Regions from separate parts of the Homo sapiens genome. Here all the other regions are linked to region 1. Evidence: promoter capture Hi-C in human tissues and cell types (Jung and others, 2019). All regions are on one chromosome and are shown on one strand. The core of a region is centred on a gene start or on the middle of the fragment in contact, and the rest is flanking DNA. Distances in the headings are between cores, read along the strand shown. Region 1 holds the start of ZDHHC22 (zDHHC palmitoyltransferase 22). Region 2 overlaps GSTZ1 (glutathione S-transferase zeta 1). Region 3 overlaps TMED8 (transmembrane p24 trafficking protein family member 8).

What was found. Contacts are between HindIII fragments. The study calls those that stand out against the background at their distance.
Region 2: a fragment that was not itself captured here is called in contact with the fragment with the promoter of ZDHHC22 in region 1 in 1 of the 25 tissues and cell types used here (dorsolateral prefrontal cortex).
Region 3: a fragment that was not itself captured here is called in contact with the fragment with the promoter of ZDHHC22 in region 1 in 2 of the 25 tissues and cell types used here (H1 embryonic stem cells and dorsolateral prefrontal cortex).

What each region holds. Positions count from the first base shown.
Region 1 is chr14:77,139,379-77,143,392 of GRCh38, reverse strand. ZDHHC22 (zDHHC palmitoyltransferase 22) reads left to right here and starts at 1,602. Exons shown (of 3, transcript NM_174976.2): 1 at 1,602-1,790; 2 at 3,641-4,014. The coding sequence starts at 3,655. RefSeq lists enhancers at 1,488-1,989, 2,084-2,647, 2,648-3,211, 3,349-3,898. The HindIII fragment of the contact is 26,670 bases long and covers 1-4,014 here.
Region 2 is chr14:77,330,062-77,334,363 of GRCh38, reverse strand. GSTZ1 (glutathione S-transferase zeta 1) reads right to left here. Exons shown (of 9, transcript NM_145870.3): 8 at 4,005-4,054; 9 at 2,767-3,295. The coding sequence ends at 3,169. Among named protein-coding and RNA genes, the nearest start is that of GSTZ1, 11 kb to the right of the region's middle. RefSeq lists an enhancer at 3,563-4,302. The HindIII fragment of the contact is 8,017 bases long and covers 1-4,302 here.
Region 3 is chr14:77,366,913-77,370,844 of GRCh38, reverse strand. All of the region lies in intron 1 of TMED8 (transmembrane p24 trafficking protein family member 8), which reads left to right. Among named protein-coding and RNA genes, the nearest start is that of TMED8, 8.2 kb to the left of the region's middle. The HindIII fragment of the contact is 7,125 bases long and covers 1-3,932 here.

The sequences.
Region 1 (4,014 bases), core at 353-2,852:
TATACCCAAACCCAAGCACCCCAGCCAGCCTCCCTCCCTGCCAAGCCCATGTGAGAGGCAGACAGAGCTTGTGAAAAGGGGCCCAGACGGCCACGATTATGAGACAAAGCTGCTCTGAAGGGAAAAGGGCCATGTGTGCCTCCCCATGTCTGTCCTGTGGCCACTGGAACTCACAAGGCTACCAGCTGCTCACGGCCACCATGTGGCATATACTGTTCTTTCACTTACATGTCAGATCCTTTTAGAATGTGAAAAGGTTTCCTGGCCTCTTTTTTATTTTGATGTATGCTGATAAATTACAGAGGAAACAGTGTGTGGTTATTCAAGAATAGAGGCTGAGCTGATCAGCATATGGCCCTCATTTCAAGGGATTGCTCTTGTTTTAATCAGCCAGTTGAGAAAGCAATAAATGTTTATTTATTAAGTATGCCATCACCGAGAGGAGAGGAACAGGGCAGGTAGGTGAGCTGCGACACCCAGGAAATTGAGGATGGTGATGGCACCAATATTCCTGCAGTGTTTGATGTTTTTAAGGCTCTGCTCCCCCCACCCCCCACTGTTTGATACACATTGGTGTCACTACCCTCTTGGCGCATCACAGTACCCACCTTAGAATAGCGGAGCCCTGGAAGGGGAAGGAAATAGAAATAAGAAGGTGGGGGTGAGGCTCAAAGAAGAAGCTCCAAGTTCAAGCTCTGTGTCTGGATAAACTCCCATTGTCTTTCCTTCTCTCAAATCAGAGCTGCCCGTGGGTCCCAGGGTGATGCTGGGCTGTGTAGAGGCTGAGTGCAGGAGCATTAATGCTAGAACCAGGTTCAAGTCCAGGCTCTGTCACTTAATGGCTGTATGACCTTAGACATGAGACTTAGCTTCTCTGAGCTTCAACCTCCTCATCTCCAGAATGGGGCTCAGCCAGCTTCACAGATCAGGCTGAGAGGATTAAGGAAGCATCTTATGCTAAAGGCTTAGCACAATGCCTGCTACCTAGTAGGGGCCCGATAAGTAGTGTCTAATTATGATCTAATCAAGCAGTGCTTGCCCTGGGCAGGCCCTGTTTAAGGGTTTTACATAGATTGTCATTTAACCCTCATATCTCTATTTCACAGATGAGGAAACTGGAATCTAAGATCACACTGGAATTTACAGACGAAGAAACTGGAATCTGAGATCTCACAGTAGTGAATGGTGAATATTCAAACCCAGGTAGACAGGCTCCAGAGTCCCAACTCCCAACCCTCTGTACACAGCCCTTCCGAGGAGATGACGCTGATCTTCATGGGTGTTGCCCTGGCAAGCTGACCTCTCAAGCCCCCAGGGTTCCTTCAGTCCGAGTGGAGAGCAGGGAAGGTCGTGGGACCTAGCCGAGAGGGAAGGGCAGGATGATGGCTGGAGAATCCACATCAGGGCTGAATCCCAATCTCCCAGCTGGAACGGGCGCTGAAACCAGGCAGGGCGCCCCAGCCCGCTCAAGGGGAATCGAGAGGGGAGGAGGGGGCAAGTCCACGATGCTGAGACTGGCGGCCAGAGCACCGCCCCCAGGAGCGGAGGGAGGGGTGGCGGGGCTGGGGGGTGCCCAGCTGCCATCCCCGCCGCTTCCTGGCCCTTACTCGCTGGCGCCCAAGTGGGAAGCCAGCAGCTGCCCGCTCCCTCCTCCCCACATCCCCGCTACTTGCCCAGTTCCCGAAGCGAAGCGCAGGCTGCGAGCCAGCCGGGCCGAGTCCACAACTTTGCAGCCTCGGGCAGGGCGAGAGCCGGCGTCCGGGGCTCCTCTTGTCGGCGACCAGAGCTCGGTGAGTTGATTTCCTCACCCCTCTGCGACGGCGGCAGTGCGGCGGCGGCGGCGCGGGGGGCGGCTTCCCGTGCGTCCGGGAGGCAGTGGCCGAGAAGCCCGCGGCTGCCGGCGCTGCCGGTCTTTCCAAGGCTCCGGCTGTGCCGCCCTCTGCCGCGGGCGAGGCGGGCGCCAGGGCTGAACGGACAGCTCCCTACACCCCGGGGCCCCACGGGCGGTCTCTGCTGTCCCTTCTCCCGCGCAGGGCCAGGGCTGAGGCTGCCTGCCGAGCGCCCCTCACTCCCCTAGCCCCTGTCCTTCGCCGCCTTCCCAGCGCTGCGGCGCATCTGGCTGCTCCCGCGCCCCCCTGGCGACCGGCGCCGGGAAGGCACTTGCTTCGCCGGAGCCCCAGGCCGAGGGCTCTCTGGGGTGGGCAGCACCGCCGCAGCCCCCGGCGGCGCAGGACTGGGGGCGTGCCCAGCCCCCGGCGACCACCCTCAGGCGTGCACTGCGCTGCGCCCCAGCGGTAGGGAGAGGCCCACGCTCTCCGCGGAGGCTGCGGGTTCCCGGGGGGCGCTGGGACCTGCAAAGGGGATTCCAAGGTGACCAGTCGACCCGTGCGGACGGGACAGCCTGGACGGAGGCCCCGTGGCATCCACCCATCCTAGGTGCAACCGCCTTCCCAGAACTTTTCTCGCGCCTCCGGCTGGCCGATTCCTTAGCCCCTGGAAAAGTTCTCTCGGGCGCACGGAATCCTATTTCTCGGTGGCTTCCGAAGCTGGCCAGGAACCCCGGCTGTGAGGCGTGGGGTGGGATGGGGACGTGGTGAGGGCTGAGCACGGCGGCGGGGTCGATCCCAGGAAAGGCTGGCCAAGCATCCACTCGTGCGCCCAGGGCGGGCTTGTCGGCATGGAAAGGATTTCGGCGCCATGAGGGTTGTTTGGGTTTCTCTCAGCAGGAGGGCGGGAGGCGGGCGCGAAGGGGGGATTTTAATTTCGCCTCAAATGAAAACGCTCTTCGCAAAGAAATAGCCCGGGCAGCCAGCGTTGGAGAGATGTGCTGGCCAGGACCCGCTGACACAGGTATTCTGGTTGCGCCCCCACCTCACCCGGTGCCCGAGAGCGAGTGTGAGTGTATCGATTGTTTCAATTGATTTTTTTAAAGCTAGATAGCAGAGGCTGCGTGTCTGTACACGCAGATATATACATACACAAATACAGATACTCAAGCGCACACAGATTACACGTACAGAGTCACAGACAAGGACACACACACACACATCGTGGTCCCTCACGCACACATACCTCCAAAGAGCCTTGGGTAACCTGGTGAGGTCCCTGAGTGCTGCCCAAGATGTGTGTGTGGGTGGGGACGCAGGGACGGAGAAAGGGGAGTGTGAAGCAGGATTTCCAGCAGGTCAAGTGCCGCTGATTCTCCTGCCCCCGACCCCAAATCCTTCCCTTTCTCCTCCTAGGGAGGTCTGAACCAGAAATCCCAAACCTGGGCTTGTTTCCACATCCACAGAGGGGAGGAGTCCTATCCCCCGGTGCCCCCCACCCTCACAACTCCTAAAGACTGCAAACGAGTCCCTCCCTCCTGTGCCAGACTCTGCCGCGCCAAGGCGCCGAGCTCGCTCAAAACCCCAGGCAACACTCACCCCCAGGTGGGGCCTAGACCCGAGGCCGCTGCGGGCTCGGGTCTCTGGCCTGCCTGATCCGGGGTTAGGGAACTGGGGAGGGGAAATCCGCGGGACAGGGGGTTGGGGGCGTGGAGTCGCGTGCAGTGCCCCAGACGCGCGGCACGGAGGAGCGGGCGAGGGCGCCCCCTGGACGCCGTAGTCAGTCAGTCCTCTTCTCACCCCGGGCCCCGCAGGAATGTAATCGAGGATGCTGGCCCTGCGGCTGCTCAACGTGGTGGCCCCCGCCTACTTCTTGTGCATCTCCCTGGTGACCTTCGTGCTGCAGCTCTTCCTCTTCCTGCCCAGCATGCGCGAGGACCCCGCGGCCGCCCGGCTCTTCTCGCCCGCCCTGCTCCACGGGGCGCTCTTCCTATTCCTCTCGGCCAACGCCCTGGGCAATTACGTCCTTGTCATCCAGAACTCCCCAGACGACCTGGGGGCCTGCCAGGGGGCCTCGGCCAGGAAGACTCCATGCCCCTCACCTAGCACCCACTTCTGCCGAGTGTGCGCCAGAGTCACCCTGAGGCACGACCATCACTGTTTCTTCACCGGCAACTGCATCGGCAGC
Region 2 (4,302 bases), core at 1,404-3,903, 190 kb before region 1:
AACTACCCTACAAGTAACAAAAAGCCCAGGCAGATTCCATGTAGCTGGAGATCATTAATGATTCATGTTTGGGTATGCTGGATGTAATATGTCACTGTGAACACATAATATATTTAAGATTATTATTATTTTTTGAGATGGAGTCTCACTTTGTCGCCAGGCTGGAGTGCAGTGGCATGATCTCGGCTTACTGCAACCTCCGCCTCCCTGGTTCAAGCAATTCTCCTGTCTCAGCCTCCTGAGTAGCTGGAATTACAGGCACATGCCACCACGCCCAGCTAATTTTTTGTATTTTAGTAGAGACAGGGTTTCACCATGTTACCCAGGCTGGTCTTGAACTCCTGAGCTCAGGCAATCCACCCGCCTCAGCCTCCCAAAGTGCTAGGATTACAGGTGTGAGCCACCGCACCTGGCCTTAAGATTATTTTTTAACTTTTAAAAGCATTCATATGTGTCATATCATTGACCTTGACATAGCTCAGGATTACAAAAGGCAGCTCACACATTACAGCTCTTGACATTCAGCCTTGATGTTCTTTAACCTGTGCACTTCTGGCTTAAACTCAGCAGCTATCCTTAGTTCAAAGTATTCTCTGAAAGTAGAATTGCTGTGACCTTGGAAGCAAGAGCTAAATAAGTTATGTTTAGAAGTAAGAGCTGGCCCAGCTACTTGGGAGGCTGAGGCGGGAGGATCAAGATCAGCCTGGGCAACACAGTGAGACTCCATCTCTAAAAAAATTTTTTTTAAATAAAATATCTAGGCCGGGCGTGGTGGCTCACACCTGTAATCCCAGCACTTTGGGAGACCGAGGCAGGTGGATCACAAGGTCAAGAGATCAAGACCATTCTGGCCAACATGGTGAAACCCTGTCTCTACTAAAAATACAAAAATTAGCTGGGTGTGGTGGCGTGGGCCTGCAGTCCCAGCTACTTGGGAGGCTGAGGCAGGAGAATCCCTTGAACCTGGGAGGCGGAGGTTGCAGTGAACCGAGATCGCTCCACTGCACTCCAGCCTGGCGAGAGAGTGAGACTCTGTCTCCAAAAAAAAAAAAAAAAACAAAAACAAAACACTAAAAGTTAGGAGGAGCCGTATCTTGGCCAGGCGTGGTGGCTCACGCCTGTAATCCCAGCACTTTGGGAGGCCGAAGTGGGCAGATCACCTGAGGTCAGGAGTTCGAGACCAGCTTAACCAACGCGCCTGTAATCCCAGTACTCGGGAGGCTGAGGCAGGAGAATCACTTGAACCCAGGAGGTGGAAAGTTGCAATGAACCTGAGCTCTTACCACTGCACTCCAGCCTGGGCATGACAGAGCAAGACTCCATCACAAAAAAAAAATAAATAAATAAAAATAAAAAAAAATAGTATGAGTATGTGTATCACCTGTTTATCCAGTAAGTTTGCCACTTTCCTTAATGGATATGTAAAATTTCTGAGGAACACAGCCTATAATTTTTGCTTTGTTCTCAGGTATTTCCTGATAGCACCTCCCTACTGCTTTCCTCCTCCTGAAGTATTTCTGGGGACTTGTTACTTCCATAGAGTTGGAATTACCAGTATCAGGCCCCTCCATCATTGTTCTTCCTTCACTGTGGCCACTCCCACTCTGGGAAGACCACGTACATATCTAGTCTCCCTGTGCCTCTAGCATATCAGGATCAGGTGTCTGCTGAGTGTGATATGGAAAGGAAGGACTTGACTTACCACTCATCCGTTTGAGAGAAGCCCCTACTGGAAAATGTCCTGTAAAAAGGTGATGGTCTTTGCTACGATTTAAATGTTTATGTCCCCTCTAAAATTCATGTTGAAACTTAATCTCCAATACAACAGTATTCAGAGGTGGGGCCTTCAAGAGGTAAAGCTCCTAAAAAGTCATCTCATTTCATCCCCAGAAGCTACCCCAATCTCTGTACGGCATCTCTGCCCAGAGGTGGTCCTGGTTCTGCCTGAACACTGCCAAGCATGGGAACTTGCTCCCTCCAGGGCAGCCTGTGGTACACTGCTACCTGCTTGGTCTCCTAAGCTGGCCTGGTCAGTAGCTGCTCACACTGCCCACGGGGGAGCCTGCCTCCCATTCCCAGCACCATCTGTGACTGGATTTACCCCGAGTGCCTAATCCTGGGACTGGTCTGGAGAATGCTGGCCCTGAAGACGAGGGACTGGTTGAGAGGGCCAAATGGCCTCTCAGTGCTGGAGTGGAATATGTTTTTTTTTTTTAGATGGAGTCTCACTCTATCTCCCAAGCTGGAGTGCACTGGTGCAATCTCGGCTCACTGCAACCTCCACCTCCCAGGTTCAAGCCATTCTCCCACCTCAGCTGGGACTACAGGCACCTGCCACTACACCCGGCTAATTTTTGTATTTTTAGTAGAGTCGGGGTTTCACCATGTTGGCCAGGCTGGTCTTGAACTCCTGACCTCAAGTGATCCACCTGCCTCGGCCTCCCAAAGTGCAGGGATTATAGGCATGAGCCACTGCGCCCAGCCTGGAGTGGAACATTTAACAACGGTACCATTCCTAGCCCTGAGAACTCAGCCAGTCACTAGATGCTTTCCTGCTTCTATCTGTTATCTCCCTGGATCTTGTCTGATTCTTTCAGGCAGGCTTTTGGGTATATTTCTCATCATTGCCCTTAGGTCCCATGGGCCAGGCCTGCCACAGGGTAGGCAAGTGGCTGACTGACTTCCTCTACTGGTCCAGGCACAGGGGATTCCAGCTAGGGACAGTGTTCATCTTCTGGAACCTAGCTCAGTCTTAGACAAACAAGGTAGAGGCCTGGGCTTCAGTTTAATTCACGCCAAATTTCAGCGCGGGCATTCTTTGGAGTCACACACAACAAAAGCGGATGAGAAAAGGCACACAGCCTTCCCCGTGGTGTTACGGTGAGCACGCCAGGCATTTTAATCCGCATTCTCATCTCAGCCTCACGACTGCCCCGTCACATAGATAACAGTATTCCTGCCCACCCTGCTCCCCGCATCTCCCTACTCCACCCCACATGCGTGTGACAGATGAGGGGACTGAGGTGGAACAAGTTTCAGCAGGAAGGCAGATCCAGGGCTAGAGTTCGAGTCTCCCATCTCCTCAATTAAGACTCTCGTTTCCAGGCCTCTTCAGCCCACCCAGCTTCTGCTCCTGTGGCCCTGTGCCAACGGGGCAGGATTTGGGAGCTAGGCCCTCAGCTCAGTGGGTGTATCTGGCTGCCGGCAGGGGTGAGACACCTGGAAGGCCTCCAAGACCAGCAGCCTCTTGTTGATGGAGCTGATGGTAGGGTAGGGGGTGAGATCCACCTTGAATCTGTAGTAGAGAAACACCTGCTAAGCTAAGGTTTTCAGGGACACAGGGAGACTGCCCTGATGCAGCAGGGGGAGCAGAGAGGCAGGGCTGGATGAGGTCGAGGGAGCTGTCCAGGGAAGGACGATGGGGCAGCCCTTATTCACAGGGGATGGGTAGGTCTTGTGCAGTATCATTTGGCATCTGTTACCTACTGTTCCTATTTCTTTGTGAACCTGCTATGTGTAAGGCCCAGTGCTAGGCATTTATATATACAGACTCTCTTCCCCCATGTTGTAAGCTTCTTGGGGGCAGGGAATGTGCCATACGTTTCCATATCCCTAACGCCTAGCATGATGCCTTCCAGAGAGGTGCTCATTTGTGCCCTACCAAAGGGTTCACGGAAGGATGCAGAGGTAGAGCTCACTACTGCTCACAGACACACCACATTTGAGGACATCAGGCAGGTGCTCTTGGGGGTCCACCAGGTGAGCCACCTCCTCTTAGGAGCTGGGGCTATCTATACAGGTTCATCTGGGCTGTGGTGGGCGTAGTAGGAGCACTGCCCCAATTTCTTCTGCCCTCTTCCAGGCAGAAGTGGCTATGTGGCCTGGCATGGTGGGCTCCTTGGCTGGTTGGCGAAGCGTCTGCATGAGATGCTATCTCGCCAGCTGAGTGGGGCCTGACTGTGGGCAGAGCCACGAGAAGGGAGGGTGGCGGGGCTCTCTCTTACCTTTCAGCATTTGCCACCTGAGGCACCAAGCACAGATCAGCCATGGTCACCTGAAAGAGGTCCCGGTGGGTTCCCATCAGGGTGCATACCCCAGAGTCAGTGGCTGGACTGGGTGTGTCCACTGCGACTCTACTGGGGGTACCAACAATCTGCTTCGGCTCTTTCACCCATCCCACCTCCAATTCTTGTCTGCCCTAGGCCTGCATGAGTCTGTCCCCCGGAGCTGAAGTGCCCTCCCAGGCCATGCTCCAGTTGCCCTGACAACCAACTCTGTGGGTTGAGAGGGCCAGAGAAGATG
Region 3 (3,932 bases), core at 104-2,603, 230 kb before region 1:
CTCAAGTAGCTGGGATTACAGGCACGCACCACCACGCCTAAGCATGCCCATTTTTTGTGTAAAAAAGTGAAAAAGTATACACACACACACACACACACACACTTTTTTTTATATGCATAAAACATCTTTGGAAGACTACACAAAACCAAATAACATTGATTGCTTTTGGAGGTAGGGACTGACATGGGAGGAAATTTTTCACTGTATACTTATATGCTTTTTGAATTTTGAATAATGTGGATAAATTATTCAGAAATAGTTAATAAAAATAGTCTTTAAAATATATAAATATATGTGTACATAGATAGACACACACACAAACTTGGCATGAGACTTCACTATGTCTATATCCTAAATAAGAGCCTTTCTATAGGTCTGTATTCTGTTTCTGCTCATCAGGAACTGACATTTTCTAGACCTTTTTCTCTCAGTGAATTTTTTTATAAAAGGTTATAAGTCTCCTTAGAGATTAATTTTGTTATTCTTTAAATCCACTACTGTCTTTCATTATTTTTGTGCTAGTTTCATTTCTGTCTAAAAATTTAACCTTTTTGAAGTCTTCATTACGATCCAAAGGACAGGATAAGCCAAAGGGGGATAGACATAGTAGATAAACTGATATTATTAATCAATGACAGAGAGAGGGCAGAATTTTTTTTTTTTTTTTTTTTTTGAAACGGAGTCTCGCTCTGTCGCCTTGACTGGAGTGCAGTGGTGTGATCTCGGCTCACTGCAACCTCCGCCTTCTGGGTTCAAGCGATTCTCCTGCCTCAGCCTCCCGAGTAGCTGGGATTACAGGCATGTGCCACCACGCCCGGCTAATTTTTGTATTTTTAGTAGAGATGGGGTTTCACCATGCTGGCCAGGTTGGTCTCGAACTCCTGACCTTGTGATCTGCCCGCCTCGGCCCTCCCGCCTCCGCCTCCCTTACAGGCATGAGCCACCGTGCCTGGCAGAGGGCAGAACTATTTTTGTTTCTATTTTATTCACTAAGGTATATTCAGATTGATATGGGTAAATAGGCAATATGGATTTCTGTTTTCAGTAATAGCAGACTAGGTAATTATCTCTCATCAGGGACAATTAGAAAATATGGGTGAAATATAAACATCTGCTGGAAGATACTGGAGAGATAGAAAGATCATGAAGAATTACCTAGCTGTGATCCATGTGAGAGCTATAGAGATCCAAGGACAAGAGTCTATTTTGGGGCTCTTTTGTCTCCTGAGGGTACATGCTGGATTCCTGAGTGGGGAAGCTGAGTGACAAGGTCATGAAAAGTGCCTCTTTGAACTAAAGTAACAGGAAATGGATTAGTGTTCAGGACCCGTCAAGGGGGAGCCTGGTGAACTCCATTTCCTTTGGGTTAGGGCCATGAAAGGCCATGCCCTAAAAGTAGGTCATTGCAGGGAGTGCAACTCAGCTTCAGAAACAGCTAAGTTCATGAATTGGGATTTTTGGGTGGCTTTGACAAGCTGGTTCTAAAATACATATAGAAATAGAAGGCCACAAATAGCAAAGACACTCTTGAATAAGACAACAGGGAAAGATTTGTTCCATCCAACATCAAGACTTATTTTAAAGTTTTTAAAGAGTAGTCAGGCTCTAGGAATAGAATCAAAAGCTTAGAAACATGTTTATACGGACACTTGCTTTGCAACAAAGATTGTTAACATAGAGCAGTGGGTAAGGTAAGGTAAATGTTTCTGGGACAATTGAATATTCTAAGAGAAAGGAAAGTAAAGAAACGTAATCTTTACCTCACACATCATACACAAAAAATCAACTCGGTAGATTATAGAACAGTATGTGAAAGGTAGTACATAAGCACCTACCTATAGGATATGGGAGAATATTTTCGGATCTCAATATAGTGAAAGACATCTTAGACAGGACATACAAAGACTAAGGAAGGCAAATTTGATAAATTTTGAGTACACAAAAGTACTTTGGTTCATCAAAGGCCACCATTAAATGGGAAAAGTCATGTCACAGAGTGGAAGCAGGTAATTATAATACATATACCTGACAAAAGGTTTGTATCTAAAACTCCTATAAATAATAAAAAGGGACTGGGCTTGGTGGCTCATGCCTGTAATCCCAGCACTTTGGGAGGCCAAGGTGGGCGGATCATGAGGTCAGGAGTTCGAGAACAGCCTGGCCAATATGGTGAAACCCTGTCTCTACTAAAATACAAAAATTAGCTGGGTGTGGTGGCACGTGCCTGTAGTCCCAGCTACTAGGGAGGCTGAGGCCGAAGAATCTCTTGAACCCAGGAGGCGGAGGTTGCAGTGAGCCGAGACCATGCCACTGCACTCCAACTTGGGTGACAGAGTGAGACTCCGTCTCAAAAATAAATAAATAAATAAATAAATAATAAAAAGGACAATCCAGTAATAAAATTGGCAAGAGACTTGGAGAGGCACTTCACAAAAGAAGATTTTTAAATGGCCAAGAAATACGAGTCATTGGTGAAATACAAACTAAATTAGCATACATCTACCAGAATGGCCCCCCAAAAAAATTTTAACATGACCAAGTGTCAGAGAAGGTCCAGAGTAATGAAATGATGCTACAATGCTGGTAGCATTATATTTGGTACAACCCCTTTAGAAAATAGTTCGGCATTATCTACTGAAATTTAACATTCAAATTTCTATGACTTAACCGTTTCCATTCTGACATTTATATCCAACATAAATGTATGCACTGTAGCCAAGACACAAGAATATTCATAGCAGCATTATTCATAATAGCCCCAAACTGGAGTTAACCTAAGTATCATCAACAATAGATAGATAGCTCATGGTGGATTCATGGAATAACGTACAGCAATGACAGTGAACAAACTGGCTGGGTGCGGTGGCCCATGCCTGTAATCCCAGTACTCTGGGAGGCTGAGGAAGGCGGATCACCTGAGCTCAGGATTTTGAGACCAACCTGGCCAACATGGTGAAACCCCGTCTCTACTAAAAATACAAAAATTAGTTGGGCGTGGTGGTGGGCGCCTGTAGTCCCAGCTGCTCAGGAGGCTGAGGCAGGAGAATCGCTTGAAGCGAGGAGGTGGAGGTTGCAGTGAGCCGAGATTGCACCATTGCACTCCAGCCTGGGCAACAAGAGTGAGATTCTGTCTCAGAAAAAAAAAAAAAGAAAGAAAGTTAACAAACCTACCTACAATTACATGGGTGCATTTTTTGATGCAGATTTTGATGGATGCATCAATCAAAATAATGACTGAAATAAGCAAGACCCAAAAGAAAACATTCTTTTTCATTTTCCTTTATATGGAATTCAGAAAACAGGCCCAGTGAAGCAACAGTGTTTAGGAATGCTTACTTAGGTGGCCCAGCTATAAAGAAAGCAAGGAAATAATGTCCATAGTTGGGATAGTGGTTTTCTTACCTTAAGGAGGAAAGGATCAGGTAATGATTGGGAAGGTCATGAGTGGTGCTTCTGGAGTGTTAGAAGTGTTCTATTTCTTGGCCTGGGTGGTGTTTGTGATAATTTATTGAGGTATACACTTTTGTGTACTCTTCTACATTTGCGTTATATTTCACAATAGAAAAGATTTAAAAAGTTTTTTTTTTTTTTTTTTTTTTTTTTTAGACAGAGTCTTGCTCTGTCACCCAGGCTGGAGTGCAGTGGTGTGATCTCGGCTCACTGCAACCTCTGCCTCCCAGGTTCAAGCGATTCTCCTGCCCCAGCCTCCCAAGTAGCTGGGATTAGACACACACCACCATGCCTGGCTAATTTTGTATTTTTAGTAGAGGCGGGGTTTTACCATGTTGGCCAGGCTGCTCTGGAACTCCTGACCTCAAGCCATCTGCCTGCCTCGGGCTCCCAAAGTGCTGGAGTTACAGGTATAAGCCACTGCGCCCAGCCTAGAAAAGGTTTTTAAAAGAGTCAGTGTATAATGTAGTTAGTAAGAATGC